Linked DNA regions of Homo sapiens: region 2 is linked to region 1. The links are contacts of gene promoters, found by promoter capture Hi-C in human tissues and cell types (Jung and others, 2019). All regions are on one chromosome and are shown on one strand. Each heading gives the region's core, a stretch centred on a gene start or on the middle of the fragment in contact. The rest is flanking DNA. Distances are from core to core; before and after follow the strand shown. Region 1 holds the start of BLVRA (biliverdin reductase A). Region 2 overlaps HECW1 (HECT, C2 and WW domain containing E3 ubiquitin protein ligase 1).

Region 1 (7,741 bases), core at 1,765-4,264:
ACGGAGTCTCATTCTGTCGCCCAGGCTGGAGTGAGGTGGGGAGATCCCAGCTCACTATAACCTCTGCCTCTCAGATTCAAGCGATTCTCCTGCATCAGCCTCCTGAATAACTGGAACTACAGGTACGCTCCACTGTGCCTGGCTAATTTTTGTATTTCTAATGGAAACGGGGTTTCACCATGTTGCCCAGGCTGATCTCAAATTCCTGACCTCAAGTGATCTGCCTGCCTCGGCCTCCCAAAGTGCTGGGATTACAGGCATTAAGCCACCGCACCCGGCCTCTGTCAGAGATTTCTTCACCAAACCCTCCTTCCACTCTCCAATTCCTTCTTTTTATTTATTTATTTTATTTTATTTTTTACTTTTATTATTTTTTTAATTTTTTTTTTTTTAGATGGAGTCTCACTTTGTCTCCCAGGCTGTAGTGCAGTAGTGCTATCTTGGCTCACTGCAACCTCTGTCTCCCGGGTTCAAGTGATTCTCATGCCTCAGCCTCCCTCCCAGAGTAGCTGGGAGTATAGGCATATGCCACCATACCTGGCTAATTTTTGTATTTTTAGTAGAGACGGGGTCTTACCATGTTGCCCAGGCTGCGACCTGCCTGCCTGGGCCTCCCAAAGTGTTGCGATTACAGGTGGCTCCCGCCTGATTCTTTCTTACATCTTTGGAGATCTCTTCCTAGAATTTCACATTAGTATATCTTGTTGTCCTAATCAAAATCTATACTTTCATATCTTGTTACACATAGGAGAAAAAGAGCTAAGAGAATGACACAGAAATGGAGCTGGAGCCTTAATACACCTCCTAACTGTTAATCTGTTTGGGTGGGGTTTCTGTCACTTGTGGCCTACAGCAGTCTTACTGTCCCCCCAACCTCCCACAAAGTTCTTCAGGTTGAAGAGAGTCACTACTTTGTAGAATGGGAAGCTCTTACTCAAAAAAGTAGAAACTGAATACAAAACTAGACTTTAGAAGGATAAGATAAATAAATCAATGCATTCATAACACATCATTACAAGAAAGTGAGGGGGTTAGAGGTCTCATCTTTAAATTCTGCTCTCAAGGACATGGAGGGCCCCTCTCACAGGCTTTCCCAAAGCTCCTCTGGGTGTACTGGTCTGACTCAGCAAGTGAACATCTGTGGTTTTGCCTAGCCAGCATCCCTTCTCCTAGCAGCAGCACTCAGCATGTCCTTTTGGGGAATCACTCTTTTCTCTTGTGGTTTATTTAAAGTGACTGCACAATCAGACCCCAGAGTTTGGCTTATGTCCTAGGCCTTGCCAGTGAAAATATGGTACCTCATCAGTGGCAGTTATTTTTCCGAGAAAGGACATATCATGACCCAAGGGGCAGCAGCAGGGAGGGGTGGATGGAAGAGACAGATAACAAACAATAAGCTAAATAAACAAATTCAGTCAGGAGCTAAAGAAATAAGTCATTCAGGAGTGGGGCAGGTGGCAATTTCAAATGGAGTGGTTAGGGTAGTTCTCAATGAGGCAGCATTTGAGAAAATATCAGGAAGAGTGAGAAGTAGTCGAGCATTCCAAACAGACAGGAGCCTGTGCAAAGACCCTGCAGCAGAGCCCTGTCTGCCTTGCATAAGAAATAGCAGGGAGGCCAGAGTGACTGGAGCAGAGTGAGCCAGTGGGGAGGCAGTAGCAGATGAGGTTGTAGGGGTAACAGAGGAGCAGATCAGGCAGGGCTTTGGGTTTTACTCTGAGTTTGGGAAACCACTGGGAAGGTTTTGGGCAGAGGAGGAATTTGATCTGGCTTTCTTTTTTTAAGGTCACTCTGGCTGCTTTATGGGGACAGGCTGCAGGGATATCAGGGAAGAGACCACTGTCATGACCCAGGTAGCAGATGATGGAGGCAGAGGTAAGAAGTGGTCAGGCTCTGGGTATGCTAGGGAGATCCAACCAACAGAATTTTTGGGCCCTGGAGGTGGGATGTGAGAGAAAGGTTTCTGAAACAGCAAGGTTTCTGGCCTTGACAACTGGAAGATGGAGTTGCCATCGAGATGGTGATGCTATGGGGAAGAGATCAGGGGCACAGATTTGGATGTGTTGAGATTGAAATGTATTTTAGAGATCCAAGAGGAGGTATTAAGGAGGCAGCTGGATAGAGGAGTATGGAGTTCAGGAGGCAGGTCCCGCCTGGAGATAAAAATTCAAAGCCAAGCCTTCTCTCTTTGCACTCAACAAAACCTCACTTAAACAGGCTTGTCAGGTCATGGAATACGGTACTAGAACTCTTTGTTGGGGAAAATGCCAGTCAACCTTACCCGTCAGAACGCTGCCTTTAAGATCAGAGATCTCTTTCCTTCAGCCTAATCCACCCCTCTCCCTGTTTTCTCCCCTAGCCCCACTAGGCTAGAAGCTCCCTGGCTTCTCCCACATCAGGATCCCCAACAAACCCATTCCCAGGTGGATAAGAGCCCAGGCAGTTCCCTAGACCACGTTCACTACTTCCTAGCTACCCAAGAGCAGGACATCGCAGACACCGGCCTCCTGGAATATTCCCTCCGCTCCTCACATTTACAGGAAGGACTCAGGTAAGCCTCGGCGCCAGTTCAGTCGGCCCGGGGCCACTAAATACCAATGGGATCCAGTGGGTTCTACGTGGTGAGTGGGGGGCGGATAAGAGAGATGCGACACCCCCCGGGCCTGCCCCCCCCACGCCGGGGCCAGGCACACCGTGAGGGGGCCAGGCACACCGTGAGGGGGCCCAGCCACTTCCATACGCCCTCCGGTCGGCCGGCACCCACCACCCACCCCTCGCCACCAAGCTGGGTGCAGAGAACAGGGCAGGCGCACGGACGGTTCTTACGGCCCCAGGCGCCAGACCCAGGGCACAGAGGCCAGGATCTCACGCGCGACCGCACGAGGCCGGGACCCTCCCTCCCCTTCCGTCCACTCCCTTCCCCACCGCCTCCGGTCCCCTCCCGGTCTCCGCCACCCCGCTTCGGGGCCCCCGCCCCCCAGCCGGGCAGCCAATCGGAGCTGGGATCCCGCCCCGGTCCGCAAAGCCGGTGGCGCCCGGAGGCTGCACGGAGAGCGGTGCCCGCGTCAGGTGAGGCGCGCGCGGGGAACGGGGGTCGCGCGCAGGGGAGCGGGGGTCGCGCGCGGCTTCCATAGAGCGCTAGGGCCTGAGCTCGAAGCCCCAGGCCCGCAGGAGGCCCGGGCCCGCGGCCGCCAGAGCCGGGACGCAGCCTGGGCGCCGCCTGCCCCGCCCCGCCCCGCCCGGGCCCGGAGTGAGGACGCGGTCGGAGGCCCAGCAGCGCGGGTCCCGGCAAGGGGCTTTCTCAACTACACAAAAGACAGTCTAAAAAATTAAGTCTCCATTTCGGTTAAGACTGCCCGTAGTTTCGGTTTTTATGTAGACCCAAGAGGGCAGGCTCGGCGTCCGCGTGCCGCGTAGTCCGGCGGCTCCAGGAGCGCGAGCGGCTGGGCCCGGGCGTAGCCACCGCAGGGCCGCTAGCTCGGCCGGGACCCGCCTGGGATGCCCTGGGGTCTGCTCCGCTGGGGCGAATCCTGAGGCGCCACGCGAGGCACTTGGCCTCTCCTAGCCCCGCTTTCGTTTTTGGAAACTGGAAACTATCACTTATTTCGTAGACGGTGTGAGGGTTACATGACAGTGTTCTGTAAAGTGCACTCTACATATGAAGTGCTCAGAAATATGGCTAATAATGAGGGTATTTATAAACTACTTAAATTATAAAAAGAATGAGACATCAGACTTACAGTTTTGGATACTAATTTTTTTCACTTAACGTTCATTATGTGATAGGAGTTTTCCATCCTATTATACCGCTGTGCGATCTGATCTTGGGCACGTTAACCAACCTCTTGTTGCCTCGATTTTCTCACCTGTAAAAGTGGGGGTAATCATAATGCTTACTTAGTAGGATAGCCCTGAAGAATAAGTGACTTAGCGAACATAAATAGCTTACAATAGGGTTTTCAGCATGGGAAGGATTCAGTAAATGTTAGCTGTCATCATCACCACCTACAAAGGAAGCAATACTGTGCTGAAAGTTTTTCCATCATTAATGTAATTTCTATAGTACGATTCCCAAGAAGATATTAAAATTATGGAAATAAAGGTATTGGTATATTCCTAATTATTTCCTAAAAGATTGTATTGATAAATATGCTCATCCTTCCCTTAACGGGATGCATTCCAGAAAAACAAGTCAAATGTTAGACAAAGTATCAGAAGGGAAATTCTGTAGCCAGAGAGCTAAAAATTACAATAGGGTCTCTAATTATACTTCAACTTTTTTAGGAATAATTCTCAGTGTGTTTTCCCACATTTCATATGTAATTTTTTTTTTTTTTTTTTTTTGAGACAGAGCCTCGCCCTGTCACCAGGCTGGAGTACAGTGGCGCGATCTCGGCTCACTGCAACTTCCACCTGCTGGGTTCAAGCAATTCTTCTGACCTCAGGTGATCCACCCGCCTCGGCCTCCCAAAGTGCTGGGATTATAACAGGCGTGGCATGAGTCACCGCGCCCGGCCGATCTTTACTTTTTTATTCTTTGTACCCCCTGCCTATCCAGTTAGCATGTGATTAAAGTCAAAGATTTGCCACTTTGGGCCACATCTATTAATTTTCATCTTTGTTATAATTGTATTTAGTTTTTGATCTACACTGCTTATTACTCCCAGTCATTTTTTCTAGAACTGAAAATCTGGTAAAATACTCAAAATTGCACTGACTTCTATGTAGAGGCGACACTCCATCAGAACCGTGGGCTGACAGGGAATCCCACTGTGCAGGAGCTGCGCGCATTTTCATTTCTGATTCTCTTTGGCGTATCCAGGACTCTGATGACATGATCATATATTTATCAGTAGTAACAGGTTGGGCCATTTGTTTTTTGTGGTAAATCATATATTTAAGATTTTAGAAATAAGTTGATAGCCATGTATTTTGGAATTTGAAAAAGACATTGCATTACTCAGCTTCAAATTAAGCTTTAATCAAATAGTGAAACTTTCCATTAATGGACAGTGTATACCTTTTTGTGTATTTAAAAAAAAAAACACTGAATATAGTGCCTTTGTGACAGGGGAGCTTAGTTCCTGACAATGTCCTCTTGAGTCTTTTTTTTTTTTTTTTGAGATGGAGTCTCACTGTGTCGCCCAGGCTGGAGTGCAGTGGCGCCATCTTGGCTCACTGCAACCTCCGCCCCCTGGGTTCAAGTGATTCTCATTCCTCAGCTTCCTAAGTAGCTGGGATTACAGGCACGCACCACCATGACCAGCTAATTTTTATACTTTTAGTAGAGACAGGGTTTTGCCATGTTGGCTAGGTTGGTCTCGAACTCCTGACCTCAAGTAATCCACCCACCATGGCCTCCCCAAAGTGCTGGGATTACAGGCGTGAGCCATTTCACCCGGCCTCTCTTCCGTCTTTGAGCTGTGAGGAAATAGCTACATTACATGAGCTGCTAGATCTGCCTTATGGTCAGAAATGAAGGTTGAACTCTCAGGAACAGTGACATATATACACACTGATATTTCCAAAGTACAATGCCCCAAATTGATCCACAAAGGAATTAAGGTCATTTGCAACAAAATCACAGAATAGTAACAAATAAATAGAAGATAAATATGGCCAGGAATTGAGATGAGAGAAAGTATAAGTACAAGAAACTATTCCAGGGGAAAAAAAGAATGAAGTGTTTCAGTGTTATCCAATAGAATTTTCTGTGATTATGAAAATGTGCTATATTTAATTAATTTATATTCCAATAGCCACTCTGTGTAGCGGCTCCCTTATAGGTCATTGCAGGCCTATATTTTTGTAGTTGAGTCCCAAATTTGTTTCTAGAAAGGTAAACTTGGTCAGTTACATGGTTCTTGTCTTTTGAAAGTAAAACATACATGGCAACTTCATTCATTCATTCATTCATTGATCCCCCAAATGTTAATGGCCTTGAAGGAAGCAGAGCCTTTCCTGATTCTCAGTTATAGGGAAAATTTTCTGTGGACTTCATTATCAGAGCACCTTGATATGTTATTGCCCTGTGAAAGTCTGTTCAGTTTGGGGCTAGGAGGGATGCAGTCAGTGAAAGTGGCATAGTTTGTAATGTTTTTTAGAGTTTTGAATAATTATGTTAACTAATCTTTATAGAAAAGTTTAAAGTGTACAGAGAAGCAAAAAGAAAGTAGTCACTAAAAGTTTCACCACTTAGAGACATAATTACTGGTAATATTTTGATGTATATATTTCCAGACTTGTGTCCCATGTAGCTATTATATTTTTCTCAATAGATCCCAAAGTATCCAACTCCCTCCAGGGCAAGAGTTGCTTTTACCTTTACCCTTAGACCTCTGAGGCTGGCAGCTGGCCCCACCTGAGAGGGTCACCCTCTCCCTAATCCTTCCCCATACTTCTGTGAGTCACCTGGCTTTGGGGCAATAATAGATACTTGAGAGGGCGTTTGAGGAGGAACAAGGAGGAAGGTCACAGCTGTAGTTCATTCTGCATGATGTGTAATCCAGGCTTTTTCAACTCTGGCACTGTTGACATTTTGGGCTGGATAATTCTTTGTGTATGTGTAGTTGGGGTAGGAAGGTGTCCTGTGCATCACAGGATGTTTTGCAGCATCCCTGGCCTTTCCCTACTAGATGCCAATGGCACATACCCTTTTCCCCCCGAGTACAACAATCAGAAATGTTGGTGAGAAATACTGGGTTAATGAAAATCACTAATTTATTGCTGACAAAGCTCTGGAGTTTCAGATTCCAATTTGCATGTGGGAAAGAGACTGAAATCAAAAGGGAAACATAATGTAAGCCAAGGAAGCTGTTTAGTCCTGGCTGTGCTATTAATTTACTGTGAGATTTTGCATCTCTCCCACGTGCAAATTGGAATGTGAAACTCTAGAGCTTTGTCAGCAATAATTTAGTGATTTCCATGAACCCAGTAGTTCCTTTTTTTTTTTTTTTTTTTTTTTAAGATGGAGTCTTGCTCTGTCACCCAGGCTGGAGTGCAGTGGGACGGTCTCGGCTCATTGCAACCTCCGCCTCCCAGGTTCGAGCAATTCTCCTGCCTCAGCCTCCCGAGTAGCTGGGACTACAGGTGCACGCCACCATACCCAGGTAATTTTTGTATTTTTAGTAGACATGGGGTTTCACCATGTTGGCCAGGATGGTCTCGATCTCTTGACCTCATGATCAGCCCCATGCCCGCCTCGGCCTCCCAAAGTGCTGGGATTACAGGCATGAGCCACCGTGCCCGGCCCTTAACCCAGTAGTTGTTACTGACATTTCTGATTGTCGTGCTGGGGGGAAAACGGTATGTGCCACTGGCATCTAGTGGGGAAAGGCCAGGGATGCTGCAAACTGATATACTGCCAAGTTTATCAGTTGGGAATCCCAACAGTGAAAAGCATAAAAATGAAAGGAATTTTAAGGAGACTTTTTATAGAAGAGTGGGCAGGATTGGAGGAGCCAACAAGTGATGGTGAGGCACACAGGGAAGAGCTTCAGTGGGCACCATCCCCTCTCTGGTTTGAAGGGGTAGGGAGGGGACCAGAGCTGGGAGGAGGGGGCTGGAATACTGCTGGAGGAGCCACTCCCTTCCAGACCTGCTGTGGCCATCACAGAATGCAGCCACTGCCAGAGCAGCAGCCTGAGGAACCAGGCAGGGGGAGCACAAGTACCCTAGCCTCTCTCTTTCTGTTTCTTGCCTGCCGATCTCCTCCACTGGCTAAACCCAGCTGGATGCTAAG
Region 2 (7,741 bases), core at 3,355-5,854, 200 kb before region 1:
GAAGACTAAAAAGGCAGAATTTGCATTTGTTAAGTTGAATGATGATTTCAAGAATATAGTTATTTGGAAACATCTTGCTTTTATTTTAGAGAAATGCAGCTTGAGTCATCACTGATGATAGCATGCAGCTTGAGGAGGGGCTGAGCTACAACCACACACCTGCCCGTGGGAACCTGCAATCTAGGGAGAACACGGCCTGATAGTAACTAATCACAGCACAAGGTAGAATCAGAGGAGCACAGGGGGTAAGAGCAGCGTGCTGCGAGAGTGTGAAACAGAGCCTCCTAATCAAGTTGCCTAGAGAACATGCCACTAAAAAACTGGCATTTAGGGGAGGATTGGGAGGCAAGGAATAGGGAGAAGGGGGCTTCCAGGCTGAAGCAATAACACAAGCAAGGGCTGAGAGCGGGGAATGGCAGCACGTGTTCAGGAAGGTGCAGCTGGCCAGTGCAGAGGGTAAGATGCCCGGAGCAACATCACAGGGGATGCAGTTGAGAAAGAGTTTGGTGAGCCACAAACAAAAGACCCTGCTGTCTGGGCGCAGTGGCTCACGCCTGTAATCCTAGCACTGTGGGAGGCTAAGGCAGGCGGATAGCTTGCGCCCAAGAGTTCAAGACCAACCTGGGCAACAGGACAAGACCTCGTCTCTACAAAAAATTTAAAAAATTAGCTGGGCATGGTGGCATGCACCGGTAGTCCCAGCTATTTGGGAAGCTGAGGCAGGAGGATGACTTGAGCCCAGGAGGCTGAGGCTGCAGTGAACTGTGATTGCACCACCACACTCCAGGCTGGGCAACAGAGTGAGACCTTGTCTCAAATTAAATTAAAAAAAAAAAAGAAAGAAAAAAGAAAAGACCGTGCTGAGGAGTCTCTATTCTTTAGGAAATGAGAGTCATTGCTTCTGTTATCTGGGGTCACAGATTGAATGTAATTTCCATATTTGCTTTGGAAGCTTTGAAATACACATTAATATTATTAACCCACACAGAGAGCTTCTAAGGCAGACATTGGGCTTATGAACACGTTCTTCATATCTGAACCAAGGCACCCCTAAGAGGGCTGCTGCACCACAAGCCCCCGAGATGGTTTCTTGGGGAAGTAGGGACCTCTTCTTGGGACAAGAAGCAAATGCCTCTAAGAGGACACTGAAAATAACTCCCTGAATAGTGACCCCTGTCCAATCTCCTTTGGACAATGTCTGAAGATCAAAGAACCTAAAAAAATGTCATCTATGTGTGGATAGAAAGAAAGAACCTCTGACTTCCAGAAACTGTCGTTCGGGAAGACCTGACCTGACTATGGCAGGTGACAGGAAGCCCTGAGCAGGCAGGAAGCAAAGCAGACCCAGGGTGGCATGGGCTTCCCAGGTACTGTGAGCCACAGTGCATGTGGCCTGCACTCTGGGAGAGGCAGCCTTCAGCTCTTTCCTCAAGTCCTTCCTCTGCAGAAAGGAAAGGCAACTGGCTTCCCAGATGAGAGCGCCAGACACCGCCACAGCAAAACCCGGTCATAGCCCAGGCTACATAAAACCTTTGTGTCAGTCCAAGCCCCTGCCTGCTAAAAGATGTGTGAGGGCCAGGAGAAAGGACTTTGAGGGTAGAGGCTTCTGGGATATAATTTCATAGTTGAAGTAGATGAGAGGCAGGACTGTCACTGGAGTTGAGGTCAAGGAACTGGGGGCTTGGGTGTTCACCCTGTCAGCCATGTGGACTTAGTTGCCACACAGTCTGGTAGGAGGACTTGAAGTGGAAAAGAAGACTTCAGCAAAGTGCCAGATAATAGTCATAATAAGTTAGAAGTTCAGAGGGTCAGAAGGAACCAAAGATCTATCTGGATCACTGATTTTCAAGCTTCTTAAACCATAGTCCACAGAAAGAAATGCCTTTTATATCACAACTCAGGACATGCACATGTACTCATTTGCACATATGTGTGTGTATATCTGAAACTCAAGTTCCTCAAAACAGCACTTTACCCTTATTATCTGCAATAAAATCTATTTTCTGCTCTATCCTATTTCATTAAAATGAAATGCCAGCCAAAACCTATGGTTTTAAAAATAAATTATCTAAATGACATGAGATTCAAAGGAATGGAAACTGATCAAGGATTGCAAAAGTCATGACGTGGAATTGACAGCAGGGAGTGTGAAGAATGTCCATCCACGTCACAGCGTGTGGGGCAGTGAGCAATTTCCACCCATGAGAACTGGAGATGGGACACTAGGACCCGGAGGCAGCATCTGGAAAGAGCTTAAGGAGGTGGCAAAGTTTCTTTACTTTGAACAAGAGCTCAAAGGAGGACAGAGGAAAGGCTCAGAAGGAAAGAGAAGGGCAGAAGCTAGGTCAGAGTCGAAGTAGCACTGGGCAGTGTGGAGATAGAATAAAGGAGAGGGGAGAATCTTTGGGTTTACCTTTGGGGCAGGGACCAGGGATATCAAAGCTATGAGTCATGAGCAATTAACTGGCCTAAAAGTTGCAAACGAAATTCTAATATGAACATGTTTCACTGCAGATGTAAACTAAGCCCAGACCCAGGGTGGAGTTGGAGGCCTGGTTAAGTTAGTAGTTGGTTTACTCTGTAGCAGTGATTCTCAAAGTGGGGCTGGGGAAGGCGACTTTGCCCCTCTTCCCCCGCAAGAGGCAGTTGACAATGTCTGGAGACATTTTTGGTTGAGGGGAAGGGGTGCTACTGGTGTCCATTGAGTAGAAGCCAAGGATGCTGCTAAACATCTCACAATGCACAAAACAGCTCCCACAACAAAGAGTTATCAAGTTTGAAAAGTGAATCGTGTCAAGCTGAGAAATGCTGCTCTCTAGTACCTAAGGCCAGAAGAGGACCTACAAAGGAGGCCTGAGGGTGCCATCAGGGAGCTCAGCAGAGAAAATGGCAGCCATTGAGAAACCAAGGAGAAGCCAAGGAGGGAGATGTTCCAGAGGAAGAGCTGTCAAATGCTTTTAAAGAGCTGGAGCAGGTGGAGCGGTATGGGCTTCTGGATTTAGGGATCAAGAGGTTATTGGCAAACTTGAAAAAGAGTAAATTTAGAAGGAAAGAGAGCAAGGCCTATCTGAAGAGAACAAGGCTGTAGTTAGGCAGTGGAAGAAGATTGGCATGAAGGGAAGACACAACTTACATAACCGGCTGAACAATTGGCAGCAAAGAGGAGTGACTGCTGCCACTTTTGTGTGTTTCTAGACAACCTTAAAGTGGTCTCTAGTAGAGAGGAGCAAGACTTTCTTTGGCCCTGTGTTGGTTAACATTTCAATCTATAACTTGGAAAAATAGAGGAGACGGGGAGATCAACTGTGTAGATGACACAGTTAGAAGGATAAACAATACAGGGATTGGCACAACCCAATCCAAAATTATCTCAAAATGCTGGAACCCTAGCTTGACACCAATGGCATGGAATTCGACACAACTTAAAGACCCGTGCAGATCTCCAAAACATCCATCGCACCAAGTGTGAGAAGAGAGTGAGTCACCTGCCAGTAGGTCACGTGCAAAACTCCAGAGGCTTCAGTTGCCACAAGTATGACACGGTTCCCCAAATCATTATCACAATCATGGTTGCATTATTAAGAGAATCTTATGTTTAAATGATGATTCACAGGTTACAAAACGCATTTATGTGTGTTCTGGCGTTGATCCTCCCCATAACCCTTTGAGGTGCACGCAGCATATATTATTATCCCCACTTTACAAGTGAGAAAACTGAGGCTCAGGAAGATTAATTGACTTTTCCAGTGTCATAAAGCTGGTAAGTGACTAGACCGGGGTCAGCATAGAAGTCTTCCAAGCCCTGGTTTCTTGCTGTCCACTGCCCCACACCACCGGGCAATGCTTGGTTTGGTGCACGGGAATGAGGTAAGCAGGCACTCGGTGCTGTCAGAACCACACCTGGAGGGTGGTGAGCTCTTAGGAATGCTGAATTGGATCATGATTTGATTGTGTTCGTTCATTCTAGATGACAAACTAAGGGAGTTCACCAAGGCTCTAAATAAATGCAATAAAAGCAACTAGTAAGTAAACCATGAGTGTTCAGACTAGGTGCTATTCGTCAATGCTTTCTGTTTACTCCCAGAAATGATCTTTTACAGAATTAATTTGGTTCCAACTAATTTGTAAAGGTGATTTTTTTTCTGTAATATTTCCACTCATGAGTGCCAGTTAAAATGACCAGAGGAAGAAAACTATGAAGATGATGCCTGCTCCTATCTCGCCCCTGGCTAATTCAGCTAGTTCCAAAAGCATGCTTGGGATTTTTCACCCCACTTCGCCTGTTTAGCCATAGCCCAATGTATGTTCTAGTTTCATTGCAATCTTTTTAACATAGAGAGAAATCACTGTAACCATCCTACTCAATTTACTGAGTTCCCTTTCACTCAAATATTTACATCTAGGTAAAGTATTTCAATTATTTTCTTTTAAAGTAAAGGAAGGCCTGTTTGAATCTTAGATAATAATTTAAGAATTCTGCCAATCTGTATTCGTATGTTTCTTCCCAGTTATGTCTTTAAGGCCTAAGACCAGACACTCTACTGCCCTGTGCCTGCCTTTGGAGCTTGAGCGGGGAAAGGGACAGGGAGGAGGGAGGTAGGGGTTAGGGATAGTTCCCCAAGGACTGCCAGGAGGAGGAATGGGTGCTGGGCAGATGAAAACACCAGCATCCTCCCTAGATTCTCGATGGGCAGGAAACCCCACCTTCCCTCTTTCCTCTTCCCATCTTCCTTATTCCCAAAATAATCTCCCCCCGTAACCTGAGTGCTGCATCAGCCTGGGCAGTGATCTGATACTCTGATTTATATACTTTAAAACAAAGGTGTAAATAATACACAAGTCCCCTAGGGATCTTGTAATGAAAAGAAGAGTTTAATATCCCAAATAAAACTCTAATGAAGAGTTTAGTTTTGTTTGTTTCTTTGTATGTTTGTTTTGTGATTTGATTTTATTTGATTTGGTTTGATTTTAGAGTGCCCTTTTCTGTGCTGGTTGGTGTCTGAAAACACCATTTCAACACACCACCCTTAGGGAGGAAAAGGCAGGAAATGAACTTTCACCTGCACCCATCCACCTTTCTCTCTACTACGGTACAGGACTCGGCATCAGCCAAAGTTTCTGTAAAAACAAAGAACTTCTGGCAGGGAGCAGCTAGTCAGGTGATTCAAGGCTCCACAGCAGGGAATCTATGTGTGCTGGGCTTCTTGTACCCACTGCTGGAGAGCCACATGAGTCTTCCAGGTCCAGGTGTTAGCCTCTGGCGAGGAAGACATTCCTTGTCTAAGGCAGACACTGGCCATGCAGGAGGAAGCACATGAAGCAAGCTAGAACCCCGGGCGCCAGGACACTCCAGGCATCCAGAGAGGACTGGCTCACACGGGCAGCTTTTCTTGGAAATGCAGCACTTCGACTTTAGGTTCTGTGGGTTCTACTGGGGTAGAGGAGTCAGACTTGTCTCCAGAGCACACTTGACTTGAATGGAGAACTGGATCTCAGAATTCCAGGCCATCTCAGGTTCCTCTAAATAGATGCATGTGGTTCACAGAGGCTCAGAAATCAGAGCTGGGCAAGAAGACTTAGGAATATAATCCTTCAATACTAATTATATTTCTGCCTCCTTCATTGACCACATCAAAATTTGTAACTCATTTGCAAATCAGGCTGATACCATAGAGTTTATAATCAGTTTGCTAGTGTCATTCTAGTGTAGTTGGTTTGCTTGCAAATGCAAACAACCCATTTTTAGTTATTCCATTCCTTCCACCAGTCTATTCATTCTAGAGGAATGTGGCTCTTTAGTGTGCAATGTTTTATGGTGGTCCTAAATCATGGTCCTGCTCACTTTTGATTCCTTTTTGAATCACAACTTCAGACAGTCACAGATCCAGAACCAGTTGTATCATTGAAACAAACACTCTCACCAATCTCTTCTCCCCATTCAGGGCACACACATGCTTCAACCGACTGGATCTTCCACCGTATCCCTCGTACTCCATGTTGTATGAAAAGCTGTTAACAGCAGTAGAGGAAACCAGCACCTTTGGACTTGAGTGAGGACATGGAACCTCGCCTGACATTTTCCTGGCCAGTGACATCACCCTTCCTGGGATGATCCCCTTTTCCCTTTCCCTTAATCAACTCTCCTTTGATTTTGGTATTCCATGATTTTTATTTTCAAACCAAATCAGGATTGACAAAAGCTGTGCATGAAGAACTGCCTTCTTCTAAGATCTAACCTTCAGGCTTCTCTCCTCTGTTTTCAATGAACTGCTAGCCTGTATGCAATATTAAAAAACAGCTGTCTCAAGGTCTGTGTATATCTCCACATACCTCCATTACTAACAATGAAATATGAATGCAAGTTAAGCTACACTTGACCAAATGGTAATAAATGTTTACTTCCATTTCTATCATTGAAGGGAAAATGTGAGCATTAAGCACTCCAGGCTTTCATATGCCCATGTCTTCTGAGCAGAGCCACCATTTTTTATAATTTCTAATAACCAACTCCAGAACTAGGAGCTGATCAACTCTTTGTTTTCCTCTCCATCTACTTTTCCCTGTGCATAATATCCATCCAAAGGACAACAGTGGCAAAGCTGAAATTTTTATACATTCAACTCATGATTCACATGTGGCATCAGTCCCATCAGCCGGAACTAGCCTAGACATACGGTGCAAATATGACACTTCTAACGATTAACAACAGCAAGAAAACACCTGCTGCTGATGCAATGCAATGCATCCCAATGGTTGTGGGGATTGTGGGCTCAACTCAAGAGAAGTTTAGGAGGGGGAGCATCCCTAGTGAATACTCACACCACAAGAAGGACAAACTTGTGCACATGTCCAAGAAAGAAAGCTTCTTGATTGAGGTAGCATGAAGGATGAGGCTTCAGCCCCCATTGTCTTATGTAGAATGTGGCAATGCCAACTGGAGAAAGGGAAGAAGGACATATTACCTTGGTTTGAATCCCTGAGTTCTGTACTGTTCTGTTTTGTTTAGTCTAGCCACAGTTCTTCACAAAGGAAAAAAAAATGTGTAGATGATACCATGACTTTTGTTAAAGCCATGACTTTTGTTTGCTTGGCAGACAAACCCTTTTTTTAAAACTTTGATATTTTTTTTTCACATTTTTTTTTCCTTTTCCTTTCTTAATCATGGAGTTCAAGTTCCTTTGCATTCGATTGTCCATCGGGACCACACTAGGAAGCTGCAGAGAGTGATGGTGCTTGTTAGGGATCAAGGGCAACATAGTACTTCTCCTTCACCCATAGTAATCCTCCTGGGGCAGAAACATAACACCCCAAAGGCACGTTGATTTGTATCAAAATAAATATCCAGTTTCTTTTAGCATTCAGTGAAAACATATCTCAGAAAACTTCATGTTGTCAGAAAAACAGCTGCAGGCTCCAAAGACAGCCTAACCTCTCAACTACATTTGAAATAAACCCAACCATAATGGTCATTTGCTATTTTTCTAACGTTGTTATCCATGTTGCCTGAAATAGGTCATAAATGAAAGTGTTTTTCTTCACTGGGAAAAAGAAGAGCTCAAGAGACCCCACTATTTAAATGTCATTTAATTGTTTTCCATATTAAAACAAGGGAGAAATGTAAGACGAAGTGAATTTCATATGAAGCCAATGGCTCATTATACCAGTTTGTGTCTGGACAGTGTGTTATTTGTGTTCCTACACTCTAAAGCATTCCGGCCAGGAGCGGTGGCTCATGCCTGTA

The links. Contacts are between HindIII fragments. The study calls those that stand out against the background at their distance.
Region 2: a fragment that was not itself captured here is called in contact with the fragment with the promoter of BLVRA in region 1 in 1 of the 25 tissues and cell types used here (pancreas).

The regions. Positions count from the first base shown.
Region 1 is chr7:43,755,666-43,763,406 of GRCh38, forward strand. BLVRA (biliverdin reductase A) reads left to right here and starts at 3,015. Exons shown (of 8, transcript NM_000712.4): 1 at 3,015-3,069. It also overlaps the pseudogene LOC107986727. RefSeq lists a cis regulatory region at 931-1,698 and silencers at 2,720-3,109, 3,120-3,439. The HindIII fragment of the contact is 11,547 bases long and covers 1-6,911 here.
Region 2 is chr7:43,555,873-43,563,613 of GRCh38, forward strand. HECW1 (HECT, C2 and WW domain containing E3 ubiquitin protein ligase 1) reads left to right here. Exons shown (of 30, transcript NM_015052.5): 30 at 5,943-7,741. The coding sequence ends at 6,054. Among named protein-coding and RNA genes, the nearest start is that of STK17A, 23 kb to the right of the region's middle. The HindIII fragment of the contact is 6,407 bases long and covers 1,402-7,741 here.